4 separate regions of the Homo sapiens genome follow, and all the other regions are linked to region 1. Evidence: promoter capture Hi-C in human tissues and cell types (Jung and others, 2019). All regions are on one chromosome and are shown on one strand. Each heading gives the region's core, a stretch centred on a gene start or on the middle of the fragment in contact. The rest is flanking DNA. Distances are from core to core; before and after follow the strand shown. Region 1 holds the start of PFDN4 (prefoldin subunit 4). Region 2 overlaps TSHZ2 (teashirt zinc finger homeobox 2). Region 3 has its middle 3.2 kb from the start of ZNF217. Region 4 has its middle 250 kb from the start of DOK5.

Evidence for each region. The method cuts DNA at HindIII sites, captures the fragments that hold promoters and counts their contacts. A contact is called where the count stands out against the background at its distance.
Region 2: a fragment that was not itself captured here is called in contact with the fragment with the promoter of PFDN4 in region 1 in 1 of the 25 tissues and cell types used here (lymphoblastoid cells).
Region 3: a fragment that was not itself captured here is called in contact with the fragment with the promoter of PFDN4 in region 1 in 1 of the 25 tissues and cell types used here (dorsolateral prefrontal cortex).
Region 4: a fragment that was not itself captured here is called in contact with the fragment with the promoter of PFDN4 in region 1 in 2 of the 25 tissues and cell types used here (heart left ventricle and thymus).

What each region holds. Positions count from the first base shown.
Region 1 is chr20:54,206,663-54,209,853 of GRCh38, reverse strand. PFDN4 (prefoldin subunit 4) reads right to left here and starts at 1,767. Exons shown (of 4, transcript NM_002623.4): 1 at 1,730-1,767. The coding sequence starts at 1,753. It overlaps LOC124904937 (a long non-coding RNA gene), which reads left to right and starts at 1,813. Exons shown (of 2, transcript XR_007067669.1): 1 at 1,813-1,897; 2 at 2,798-2,908. RefSeq lists enhancers at 736-1,552, 1,693-2,012, 1,553-2,370 and a silencer at 1,433-1,702. The HindIII fragment of the contact is 11,424 bases long and covers 1-3,191 here.
Region 2 is chr20:53,409,884-53,413,074 of GRCh38, reverse strand. All of the region lies in intron 2 of TSHZ2 (teashirt zinc finger homeobox 2), which reads right to left. Among named protein-coding and RNA genes, the nearest start is that of TSHZ2-AS1, 93 kb to the left of the region's middle. The HindIII fragment of the contact is 9,977 bases long and covers 1-3,191 here.
Region 3 is chr20:53,595,477-53,598,667 of GRCh38, reverse strand. It overlaps a transcript of ZNF217 not described here. Among named protein-coding and RNA genes, the nearest start is that of ZNF217, 3.2 kb to the right of the region's middle. RefSeq lists enhancers at 1-368, 1,959-2,008. The HindIII fragment of the contact is 4,381 bases long and covers 1-3,191 here.
Region 4 is chr20:54,728,591-54,731,781 of GRCh38, reverse strand. No RefSeq gene overlaps it. Among named protein-coding and RNA genes, the nearest start is that of DOK5, 250 kb to the right of the region's middle. The HindIII fragment of the contact is 5,560 bases long and covers 1-3,191 here.

The DNA of each region.
Region 1 (3,191 bases), core at 518-3,017:
GGTCACCACAGTTGTCTCCACTTAAAACTGAGACTACGCCATATTACGTGCCCCCGAAAATTTACTGAATCAATGAAAGGAAAAAAAAAGTTGGTAATTAGAAATTTTGCAATCAAAATCCAAGGTTCAAATCATTCTTCTGCCATTTCCTCTTCTACCATTTACTTCACCTCTCTGCACTTCAGTTTCCATACCTATAAAACGGAGTGAACCACAACTAGTATCTTCCAAGGAATTAAAGGCCATACCTAACACCAGAGGGCCCAATTTAACAAACTAGAGGTGAAGTGAATCTCACAAAGTTTCATACTTTTTTGAATCACCATGGCCCTAGACCCTACTCTGGGACACAGTAAGAATTTTTGGATGGCAGAATAGTAGGGTGAGCAACACATCCTGAGTTGGCTGGGGCTTTCCCATTTTTGGCAGTCCCTCAATTTCATATAAAAGGGGGCAATGGGTCACCCTACACCAGGCACAGATGGCATAGACTATGTGGTACTGGATAGGGGCAAAGCAAAGAAGTTCTAATGTGGTCTTAAAAGTGGAATGAACGCAAATCCCTCCAGCCAAGAGATTCTCATCAAAGACCCCCTATAGCAGTTTAAAACACAGACTCCGGAGTCAGAATGCCTGTGTTTAAATGCTAGCTTTGCCTCCGCGCCTGTTTTCTCATTGTTAAATAAGGATAAAAACAGTATCTCCCTCAAAGAACATAAAATAAACAATACACGCAAAACAACTTACAGCTGTACCTAGCACACTGTAAAGCTCCCCAAATTATCAGCCGTTATCTCCTTCCCCCTCTCCAATTTTCTTTTTCTTCTATCTGACTATCTTTACACATCTGGGAAGGCTCACGGGATTAAAAACCCCACATGGAAGTTTAGCCGGCTTAGTGGTTACACAGGCGTGCTTTGAGAAAAACAAAAACAAACCTGAGTTTGAACTCCAGCTCTGCTTCTTACTAGCTGAGTCACTTTAGGGCCTCTAACTGCTCTGTGTCTAAGTTTCTCTACCTGCAAAGTGGAGAGGAACCCATTGCACTTGCTGAGTTGCGGGGAGGATAACAGATAAACGGCCGGCTGCTGGGCCCGGCACATCTTCCATTCTCAATAAATACTGGTTTTAGCCTGAAGGACTCAGGGGCATCAAGCGTGGAAATGGGCAGCTCCAGGTTGGACACAGGGTCTCTGGGGCCTGCTAATCTGGGGATGCAGGAACCTGCTGTCCCCGTTATGAGCTGCGTAACCTCGGGCAGGTGACTCCCCATCTCTGGGCCTCAGTTTCCTCACCCGTAACCACGCTCCCAGCAGCAGCTACCCATAACCAGTGAGGCTAATGCGATCATGCCGGTGCAACGCCCGAGTCAAGGCCAACCACACTCAACGGGACCTTCGGCTTCCCACACCTCAGGGGCGAGGCCGGGGCTGCAGGTTCCTCAGACTCCCCGGGGGCACCCTCGGCATCGCGGGAGGCGGACCTGCGTCCTTCGAGGCTCCCGGCCCCAGCCCCGGCGCCCCGCCTCGGCTGGCCAGGTGCCTAGGAAAACGCTCAGGGCGCCAGGCGCGAGCAGGCCTTGCCGCGGGACCGCTCTCAGGGCCTCGGCCTCGGCCTCGGGTCCCACGCCGGGCTTCGGAGCTGCGCACCCCCAGCATCCCGCGCCCGGGCCCCAGCGGCCGAGATCCGGCGCCGCCCGAGCATCCAGAGCCCCGAGCTCCCCACTCACCGCCTTCTTCATGGTGGCCGCCATCTTGGGACTGGACTACCGCAGGCGGCGGGGAGGGCCGCAATGGCGCGCTTCGCCCCCGAGCGTTCTCTCGCTCCCGGTCGGCCTAGAACTCCCCGCAAAAATACAACACTGTCTCCACATTCCGTCCTCTTGGACTTTTGGCCAGTGAGTCCAAACGGCTGGGACGTAGGGAGGAAATGTGACCTGGAAGGACTTGGTACATGCCAATTAAAGGGACAGGCAACCCCCGTGGACCGACATAAACACGGGGGTGTGGCGAACGGCTCCGGCCGCGGGCAGCAGGGGGCGCGCCCAAGGCTCAGCGCGGCGGGGCCCAGCTGGGGCAGGATCAAAGGGCTCGGGGAATTTTTCTCCATCCGTCCCACAGACTTGCATTGAGAAAGCTAACCTACCTGTAAAACAGCTAGGAACGAATGGCCTTGGCAAATAGGGTGTGAGATTTATGTGCCATGATAATTCAGGTGGTGTAAAGGAGGTACTCCTATCTTTTAATGTAATTTTTTTTTAATTTAAATTCGGGGGGTATGTGTGCCGGTTTATTACATGGATATACTGCATGGTGCTAAGGTTTGGGTTTCTAATGATCCCGTTGCCCAAGTAGTGAACATAGTACCCCACAGGTAATTTTTCAACCCCTTTCCCCTGCCTCCTTCCCCGTTTTTGGAATCCGTAGCATTTATTGTTCCCACCTTTATGTCCACGAGTACCCAGTGTTTAGCTGTCACTCATAAGTGGGAACATGAGTGGTTGGTTTTCTGTTTCTGTGTTAATTCACTTAGGATAATGATGTCCAGCTGCATCCATGTTGCTGCAAAGGACATGATTTTGTTCTTTTTTATGGCTGCATAGTATTCCATGGTGTATATGGACCACATTTTCTTTATCCTATCCACCACTGATGGGCATCTGGGTTGATTCCATGCCTTTGCTGTTGTGACTAGGCAATCCTATTAATTAATTTACAGCAATATTACTGAACAATTACTGTATATTCTGACACTTGTGTCTCCCAATTAGTAATTTTTTTTTTTTTTTTTGCCTTAGGACCTCTTTATACTCCTGGAAATTACTGAGGACTCCAAAGAACTTTTGTTTATGTGGGTTATTTATCGATATTTGCTGTATTAGAAATTAAAGCAGAATTTTTAAAATGTATTTATTAATTCATTTAAAATAATATAAAACTCCATTCCATGGTAATAAAAATCACACTTTAAAAATAACTATATTTTCTAAGACAAAAATAAATTGAGAAGATTGTCATCATTTTACATTTTCACTGATCTCTTTAATATCAGGCTTAATGGAAGGTTACATTCTCATGTCTACTTCTGCATTCAGTCTCTCCAAATACACTGTTTAGTTGCCTAGTTGTAGGTATGAAAAACCCCAGCCTCATACAAATCATGTAGTTGGGAAAGGGAGGCCCTCATGGATC
Region 2 (3,191 bases), core at 355-2,854, 800 kb after region 1:
CCGCTCTCCCCTATTGGGGGTTCCTGGGATCAGGAATCCTTGTTTTAGAGGAGGCTTCTGGGGGAACCTGAGCCAAGACAAACCCGAGTATTGTTGGGACAGGAATACCGGGGGTGGGTTAAGAAGATGTCGAGGCCTGCCAGGGAGCCAGAGAGCCCTGGTCCCTAGCTCCAACCTGAGGACTGGGATCGGAGGTCTTTCCAGAAACAGAAGGCTTCTAGCTGCTCCCATGGGTTTCAGGAGGAATCCGCTTGCTTGGATCAGCTGACCTCTGACAGTTTGTTTAGGGAAGGAGTGGGGAGTGATTGTTACAGGCCCTGCAGGGGAGAGAGCCTGTGGGTGGTGGTGCTGAGGCGTGTTTAATGAGGCTGTCCCTTAGTCAGGGGCTGAAGGTGGACCCTTGACATTTGGAAGCAGCGTGGAGAGTCACTGTGCACCCCCTGAGAGACGGAGGCCTCTGCCCGGAGCAGGGAACTTCATAAGTGGCGGCCCAGAGGGAACCGTCCACAGAACCCGTGAGTGCCCAGAAATCAAGAGTTAGCTTGTTTCCCTGGAGATGGATGGTGGTGATGGTTGTGGAACAGTTTGTATTCACTTAAAGCCACAGAACTGTACACTTAAAAATGGTTAAAAGCGTAAATTTTATCCTATGTGTAATTTACCACAATAAAAACAAAACCAACAATGGGTCAGCTTTGATCATTCTCCTGGAGCACACAGGCTGGGAACCAGTAGCCTTGCTCCAGGGCTGGGACCTTTCTTGTCCCATTCCCTTTTCTAACTATCCTGAAGCTATTGTCAGCAGGCTGGGGAGGAGACCAGAGGAGCAGCCATAGAGAAGAATCGAGCCCTTCTCCAATTTCCCACTGGGTGCCTCCAGCCCAGAGCAGGACCGGACGTGTTAACCTGACTTTTCTGACTCTGAATTGGATCTGTGAACTGAGTCTTAATGGGACCATGGGCTCGTCCCTGCTAAGAGTGAGCAGAAAAGTCATGAGTTGCCTGAAGTCTTATTCAAGGGAGGGGAATGTTTATTCCCTCTGAACAGAATTGAAAGAAAGAAAGAAAGAAAATGATGCTTTGATCACCCTTCAGGCAACATGCCTATTCAACATGTATGCATGTTTTAACATTTATTTAATGCTCATTATGTGTGGGACTCTTTGTTAAATGTTCTTGCTTGAATAGGCTAATTTAATTCCATCTATGAGATAGGTACTCTTTTTTTTATTTTATTTTATTTTTTGAGGCAGGGTCTTGCTCTGTCATCCTGGCTTAAGTGCAGTAGCTTGAACAGAGCTCACTGCAGCCTTGACTTCCTAGGCTGAAGATATCCTCTTGCCTCAGCCTCCCATGCAGCTGGGATTACATGCACGTGCCAACCTACCTGTCCAATTTTTAAGTTTTTTATAGAGACGAGGTCTCACTATGTTGCCCAGGTTGGTCTCAAACTCCTGGCCTTGAGCAGTCCTCCCAATTTAGCCTCTCGAAGTGCTGGGATTACAGATGTGAGCCATCATCCTCAGCCTTAGGTACTCTTAAGTTACTTTTTTTAAGGTGAGGAAACAGGTTCAGAGAGCTTATGTTAAGTGTCCTAGGGGCTCACAGTAGGAGTTGGGATTTGAGGCCAGGTCTGTCAGATTCTAAAGCTCTGCTCTTAACCACTGTTTCCTAATTGCCCCAGGCCAAGACATGGAGCTCACTTGGAGACCCAGAGTCCGCAGGCTGCCCTTAGATTTTAGGGAAGTGCTCACAGTTTTCTCCCTTTACATAAGTTCATGCCAAGTCTGGGATGAGTTGAGACTGGAGGCCCCTGGGACTCCACATCATGTCAGGAAGGTTGAGGGAGGCCAAGGCCATGGTCCTAGCTGTAGAAAAACTTCAGGTCAAACGTAGCCTCCACTCACTCTTCTGTGACATGAAGGCCCCACTTCCCGTCTTATAGAAGAAGATACCCCCAAAATGCTGAACATGGTTCACAGTTATGAACAGGAAAGTGTTTCATAAGTGGCATTTGCACTAATATTTGACTTGAAGGAGCAGGATCCAGGGAACATTGAATTACAGCTCATATTAAAGTGCTTTAAAAATGGTACCAATGGCCGGGCATGGTGGCTCATGCCTGTTATCCCAGCATTTTGGGAGGCCAAGGCAGGTGGATCACATGAGGTCAAAAGTTCTAGACCAGCCTGGCCAAAATGGTGAAACACCATCTCTACTAAAATACAAAAGTTACCCAGGCGTCCTGGTGCATGCCTGTAATCCCAGCTACTCAAAAGGCTGAGGCAGGAGAATCACTGGAACTTGGGAGGCAGAGGCTGCAGTGAGCCTAGATAGTTCCACTGCACTCCAACCTGGGTGACAGAGCGAGACTCCGTGCCAAAAAAAAAAAAAAGGTGCTTATGATCAATACCATGGATTTTACATTTTCATAAATATAACACAGCTAATAATAATAATAATAATAATAATAATAATAATAATAATGTGACGATAATAACAGAATTCCCAAACTTCTTCTTAGGTTGTTATGTATGCCAAGCCCAGAGAGTTATGTGTTTTGTAAGTTGATTTAATTCAAATGCTATGCCTCCTCCTCCACCGATTTTGTTATCGTACTGAGACCTTTTTCATAACTTACAGGTGCCTTGGCATAACTTACAGGTGCCTTGATTTGCTCTGTTTTTTCTTACATCAGTAACTTTTAAGTGAATTCTGCTCAGGGATGTGCCTGGAGAAAGCAAGTTTGATGAGGAAGCTGGTGGAGCTGGTGGTTTGAAGGCTGAGTGAAAGTAGGGGAGAGCCCATGGCCTGATCTATGTAAGTGGTAAGTCAGGGAGGGTAGCTGCGGTCAGCATGTCCCAGAGTCACCTTCATCCTGGGATGCGCCCTCTGATTCTCAGAGTGAACATTAAAAATGGCAGACAAAACCAGGCACGGTGGCTTACGCCTGTAATCCTAGCACTTTGGGAGGCCGAGGTGGGTGGATCACCTGAGGTCAGGAGTTCAAGACCAGCCTGGCCAACATGGTGAAACCCTGTCTCTACTAAAAATACAAAAATTAGCCAGGTGTGGTAGCATGCACCTGTAATCCCAGGTACTCAAGAGGCTGAGACAGAATAATCTCTTGAACCCAAGAGGCAGAGTTTGCAGTGAGCCGAGATAGCGCCACTGCACTCCAGTCTGGGCGA
Region 3 (3,191 bases), core at 205-2,704, 610 kb after region 1:
TGGATTATAGGTAGAGAAAGCATTAAGGGAAACCTAGAAAGGAAGAAGTTTGGAGAAACCTGCATATACAGTACTGTCTCTGTCTGGAGGAGAACACGTGATGGAGCTGACACCCTTTCTTCCCTTGCATTTGGGTCCCCATGCTCTCCTGCGGTCCCTCAGACCTCACTGCCTGCTCCCTCTCAGTCCCCTTTGCTCTCTTTCTCTTCTCCTTGACTTCCAGGCGCTGAACCACCCAAGGGCCCAATACTAGCACCTCTTTCGTGTGATTTTATCCAGTCTGATGGCTCAACATGCCATCAGTATTTGGAAAGCTCCTAAATACATAATTCTTACCGGGAACTCTCCCTTCCCAACACATTTCCAACAGCAGACTCCGCGTTCACGTGCATGGCACCTGCCAGTGGTACCTGGTGTAGGCTTTTGTTAGAGATAAAGATAAATGGACACAATTGAGACATATGAAGGTTTGCTGATGGATGCAAGGTCTGTGTAGGGTGGAGTAGATGGAGATGAAATATCCTGATTAGATTTTAAGATTCTGGCTTGAGATTATAATGATGATTGAATTTCAATTAATGTTAGTCACCCTCTTCTTCCCCTCCGTCCCTCATTCCAAAACTTCCTGTTTGGAATATCTAATGAAGGCAGAAAACTTTAAAGAGGCGTTCCCAGTGTTGTGTTTTGTGTGCAATTTTTAAGGGAGTTTTTACATTAACATTTTGAGTGAAGGTAATTTCAGAAAACTATCCAGAATATTAGAGGAGTCATGAGTTGTGTTTGCAGTGGGGGAGGGCACTCATCGAATAGGACAAATCCAGTTAAAAAATGCTGTCAACCTTATCAAGATTGACTAATCCAATCAAGTTGGGAGGGTACTGAAACCTTTATTTAAATTAAGTCTTATTCTTGACCCCTCCCTTTTTGCTGTGCTTATAAAAACCCGCAATCACATCTCTTCCAGTATTGTTTGGAGCCAGGTAGAGTGAAGTCCTACAGAGTTATCAGGTTCCAGACCCTGCCTTCTCTTCTGAAAGGTAAGTTCTGCTATATATATATATACATATATATAAATATATTTTTTTAATAGTATATTATTGTGATACTTTACAGAAGAGTGACTTGCATGGGATCAAGAAACTTAATAGAAAAGAGCAATGTGGTGCTCCTTCGAGCTGTTTGTTATTCCTACTTACTTGAGTGCATTTAGTCTTGTTCAAAGGGCTGTCCCTGTTTCCTTCTCAAATGTCCTTTGTAGTTTGCAGATGCTGGCAGGTTTGCCTAACTTTTTCATGTTCTTTTCCTGCTAACTCCTCACTGCAGTTTTTCAGGTTTTCCTGCTCTGAACACTGAATTCTTTTACGTCCCGTATCTATGTTGGCTCTGTTTCAGCTCCAGGGATTTACACACAGTTTCCAAATAGTTTTTCTATAATAGTTCCACAGTAAAATAACGTCTTGTGAAATAAGAAGATCCTACCTCATTCTGTTCTTCTAATTAAGGCTGAGTCTCAAAAGAGGATTCCAGTAAGTGTTAAATACAGCAAATCAGAAGTTTTTTTTTTTTTTTTCTTTTTTTTTTTTTGTTATGTTACTAGATCTGAGCATGCTGTGACTGGCAGGATCTGGATAGAAAATCAGATGTTGGCTAAACGAAGAGGCCTTATATCACTAGGATTAAATTAGAGATAATGGTGTGATTTTATAAGCGCATACTAGGAAATATGTCTTAAGGAGGGCCTGTTTGGATGATTGTGAAAAATGAGGTGTAGCTGATGTTTGCTGCATTGAAAGAAGGTGAAGTGGGGATTTTCTGCCCCTTCTCCAAGTACCATGTGCAGAGCTTCTCTTTTGGTTCCATTCTTTGTTTTTTTGCTGGCATCTAGTAGCACCTGACTCCTTTAGAGATGGCCTACGCAGGGAGTGATGGCGAAGCTGGATTTCTTGTGGGTGGAGCTAAGCATAGGAAGACCAACGTTCGATTTTCAATTTTCACTTTGTGCAGTATGAGTTCCTAGCTTTTATTACAAAACCAAATGCTTCCAGTGTTCTCCTGTTACTTTTGGAGTTTCCATATTTTAATTGTTTGAACTATACATGCTTTCCAAATAAATGGGAAGTATGAGTCTCACATTCTAAGGGAAGAATGTGTCTTAGGGAAAAGCCCTCCCAGGCGAATTCAGATCCCTCTATGTCCTTCTGAAAACACAGTATGTATTTGCAACCCAGCAGTCAGTCACTGGCAGAATTTTGCAACGATTTCCCAGTTTCGTTGGCACGACTCCAGGACAAGGTTCTTTGTAATTCTTTGCTCAAACATAAGGAGGATCACATATAAATAAAACTCTTAGCAGACAGATCAGTGAATTATAATCATCTTTCAGTTTTAAAAGCTACAACATAATAAGGCGCTCTCTTTTTTTTTTTTGAGAGAGGCGGCGAAACAGTAACAAATCATGATGCTATAATGTGAACAAAGTGGTAGCTTTGGAGGGCACAGGGGGAAAACAAGCACAACCGTTTTTGCTCAGAAAATAATTCAGTAGCAACAAGGTCTGAGAGCCAGGAATCTCCTTGTTCTTACTGAAACGATTATTTGTCAAAATATTTGATTGTTTCCCTATTCCCCCTGAAAAGTTTGGACTTTTCTTTTTGCTCGATTTTGACACTAGAATTTTTAACTATCAGTGCTATTGTGTTTACAGCATTCAAGGTCTCGGAGTTCAAAGGTTATCCATTAACATGTAGAATGAGGTTACACTTCAGGCTCAACCTGGTTCCACTTGGTCATAGTTTCTTTGTTGTGTAGCAAGGCTCATAGTCATTTGTTTTCATAAAGTTAAATGAAGTTTCTTGTTTATGAAGTGTTTTTGGACTGTGTTTTAGAATGTGACAATAAGTTTAAAAAATATATTTTAAAGATAGGTATTCATCCTTTGTCAGAAAAGGAATCCTAATACTAAAAGTGATCAATATCAGTGGACTTGAGTGAAAAAAAATTCACCCAATTTAGTTTTTTAGTGCTGGCCTAAGAATCTACTGGCACTGCTAATTAATTGTGAGTAATTGATTCGCTTCCTTTTTAAAAAAGACTAACCAGACCATATGTGGGGTTAGTAGTTATATATAAAATGACAGCAAAACATGACACTTGGCAAATTCTTCCCCTTTGCTGAGCTGTCTTCTCAAATT
Region 4 (3,191 bases), core at 361-2,860, 520 kb before region 1:
TTACCCAAGATGGTAGAATTAATTTGGAATTTACAGCCAACTAAATTTGGATTCAAGACCTAGTTCCTTGGCTGGGCACGGTTGCTCACACCTGTAATCCCAGCACTTTGGGAGGCTGAGGCAGGTGGGAGGCATGAGGTCAGGTGTTCAAGACCACTCTGGCCAAGATGGTGAAACCCCATCTCTACTAAAAATTAAAAAATTAGCCAGGTGTGGTGGAGGGTGCCTGTAATTCCAGCTACTTGGGAGGCTGAGGCAGAGAATTGCTTGAACCCAGGAGGCGGAGGTTGCAGTGAGCTGAGATTGTGCCACTGCACTCCATCCTGGGCAACAGAGCAAGACGCAAGACTCCATCTCAAAAAAAAAAAAAAAAAAAAAAAAGACCCGGTTCCTCCATTTTGCCAGTTTTAGAAATTTAAAAAAATAATTAAACCCCTTTGATCTTCAGTTTCTCAATTTACCAAATGAGAATCATCTTAGAAACTTTAAAAGATTGTGGAAAGCTAAATAAAATAGTAAGCTCTCCGAGGATAAAGACCATCCCTGTTTTATACACCTCTGTATTTTCAACACCTAAAGCAATGCCTGACACAAAACAAGCACTCAATAAATACTGGTTGGTATAACTATAATACATGTATAATCAAGCACAGTGTCTGATATACAATACTTAATTAAAATATGAAGAATTATTCCTAAACATTAATAGCAAGGGTGTTACTTTAAGTCAAATAATGGACATGAAAAATGGGAATATTTATCCGAAAGAGAAGCACTGCTTACATTCTATGCAAAATTTAATAATGGAAGGTATACAGATTCTAGGAATAAACAGAGAATACCAAAACCAATACTTGAACTCTCTCTATATACGGACATTGTTTAAATAGATATCACAAATAGCAAGAACCGTAATACAAAGCCCAAGTTATCAAATCTATCCAAAGGCTTAAAAGTTCTAAATTTTCCATTTTCTCCAAGAAATTATATACACACATAAAATTTGTTTATATACAAATGATACATATATACACACACATACATGTGTATACCTCCTCTTTCTTGTGTATACACACACATATAACAAACACACACTAAAAATTTACTTCTTTCAGGCCCTCAGAGAAAGACTGCCCACAGAGAAACTAGTTCATAGCTTAGGAGAAAAAAAAAGTGTGGACATGTAGGTCCAGGGAACAAGTACTTCTTGGGTGAGGTTTGGGAAGACTAAAAAAAGAATTATAAACGAAAGGAGAATAAAAGCTTGCACTTAAAAATCCTTTAGGAACTTGACTTCTATTTCCAAATAGTCTTATGTTGCTATGGTTTTCAAAAGTCACTATTTCAGAATCTGTCAGGTTTTAATTAATAAATTAACTGGACTCTTAGTAGAGGCCAATATTCAATGAAAATGAAAGAAAATTAGCAGAAAGAAAATTACCTTCACAGAAGGTATTTTCTAAAACCAAACCATCTGGATTTAAATTTCAGTTCTGACACTTATAATAAGTGAGACCGTAGGCAAAGCACTTATCCTAGCCTGGTCTCAGATATCTCATCTCTAAATGGGTTACTACCAATGGCTTGCAAGAAGGATAAAATGAGAGAATCCAGGTAAAGCCGTAAGCTTAGGAGTTGGCATGGAGGAAGACTCAACACATATTTGCTAGTGTTATTACTGTTATAATTATGATTATCATTATGAACCCCTTTCTTCTAATCTGATGAATCTGAAGTCTTACAGTATTAATTTAGTGTTTTCTAATGAGTAATGATAAAAAAAAAATTAAGCCTCTTGTAATTTAGACTATGTCTCCTCAGGTAACCAAAAAAAAAAATTTAAAAGTATCTGGAGAATTCATTTAAAGTAGCAAACAAATGAGACTCATTCAAGAGATCAGCTCTCTTTCTCCACATATAACATATCTAAATTATGTGGACACTAGAGAATTCCCACTAACTTCCCATTCATTCTTAATTTTGCCTTTGGAGTCAGACAAATTTAGATTGATTCCTGATTTCACCACTCTCTAGCCATGTTACTATGTGCAACTTCATTGACTTCTCTGAGCTTGAAGGCCCTCAACAGCAAAAATGGGATAATAGTAATGTTTTTCTTCATGTGCTCCAAGAAGCAGACCCTGAGCTACAGCTTTGAGTGCAGGTTATATGGAAAGAGTTGAGAGCACCAGGAGGAAGTGGAAAGGTGGTAGAGGGAAGGAAAGGCGGCCAGCAGACAGTGTGATGTTAACTCTGCTACCACAATGGGCAACGGAAGCTTAATCCCTTAAAGGAGAAATGGTGCTACTGCAAAACTCAAGCATGAGAATCACCCTATTCTCAGGAAATTTGTAACTCATGAAAGTCAATGGGTGAGGGCTGCTATCCAGGGCTATTAAATCCAAGCCACATCTGGCTGGCTGAACACTCGTGTGGGCAGCAAGGCTTCCTGTAGTTGGTTGTGAAGGTTAGGGATGGGTGAAGAACTCTCACACACAGAGAAGGCTAGAATATGCCAAAAGATCCAAGAGATACAGGCATGGAACTGAGAATGTGTGCGGTAAAAGGGAACAACCTAACGAGGCTTTAGGGAGGAACAAGTGAGATGTTGCATAAAAAGCATTTAGCATTGTAATTAGTAAAGTGCCTAGCACATAGTAAGCATTTAAAGAATATTAGCTTCATGAATGTGGCAAAAGAAGGAAATGTTGATCTAGGTTTTGGACCCCTTTTAACGTAGGCCAACGTAATTTATTTTCTGTGTGTCCAGTGTAAAATCATTCTCTTGTGAAACCTACAAAACCAATATTTTTAATAGAACACACCTGCTGGGTGCAGTGGCTTACACCTTTAGTCCCAGCTATTCAGGACGCGCAGACAGGAGGATCACTTGTTGAGGCTGCAGTGAGCTACAGTTGCACCACTGCACTCCAGCCTGGGTGACAGGGAAGCAATAGAGAGAGAGACCTCATTTCTAAAAACATTAAATAAATAAATAAATAAATAAATAGCACACACCTTTCTTAGCTAAAACATATCTCCTTTAACGTTTCATTATACATGTATGTCTAAATTTAATGTTTTAGTTTCAGTATACTGGGAGATCTAAGTTCGAATTATATTCAATTCAACACTGCACTTATCTGTTGAGCACCTACTATGTGCAAGGCAGCATGCTAGGTATTAGAGAT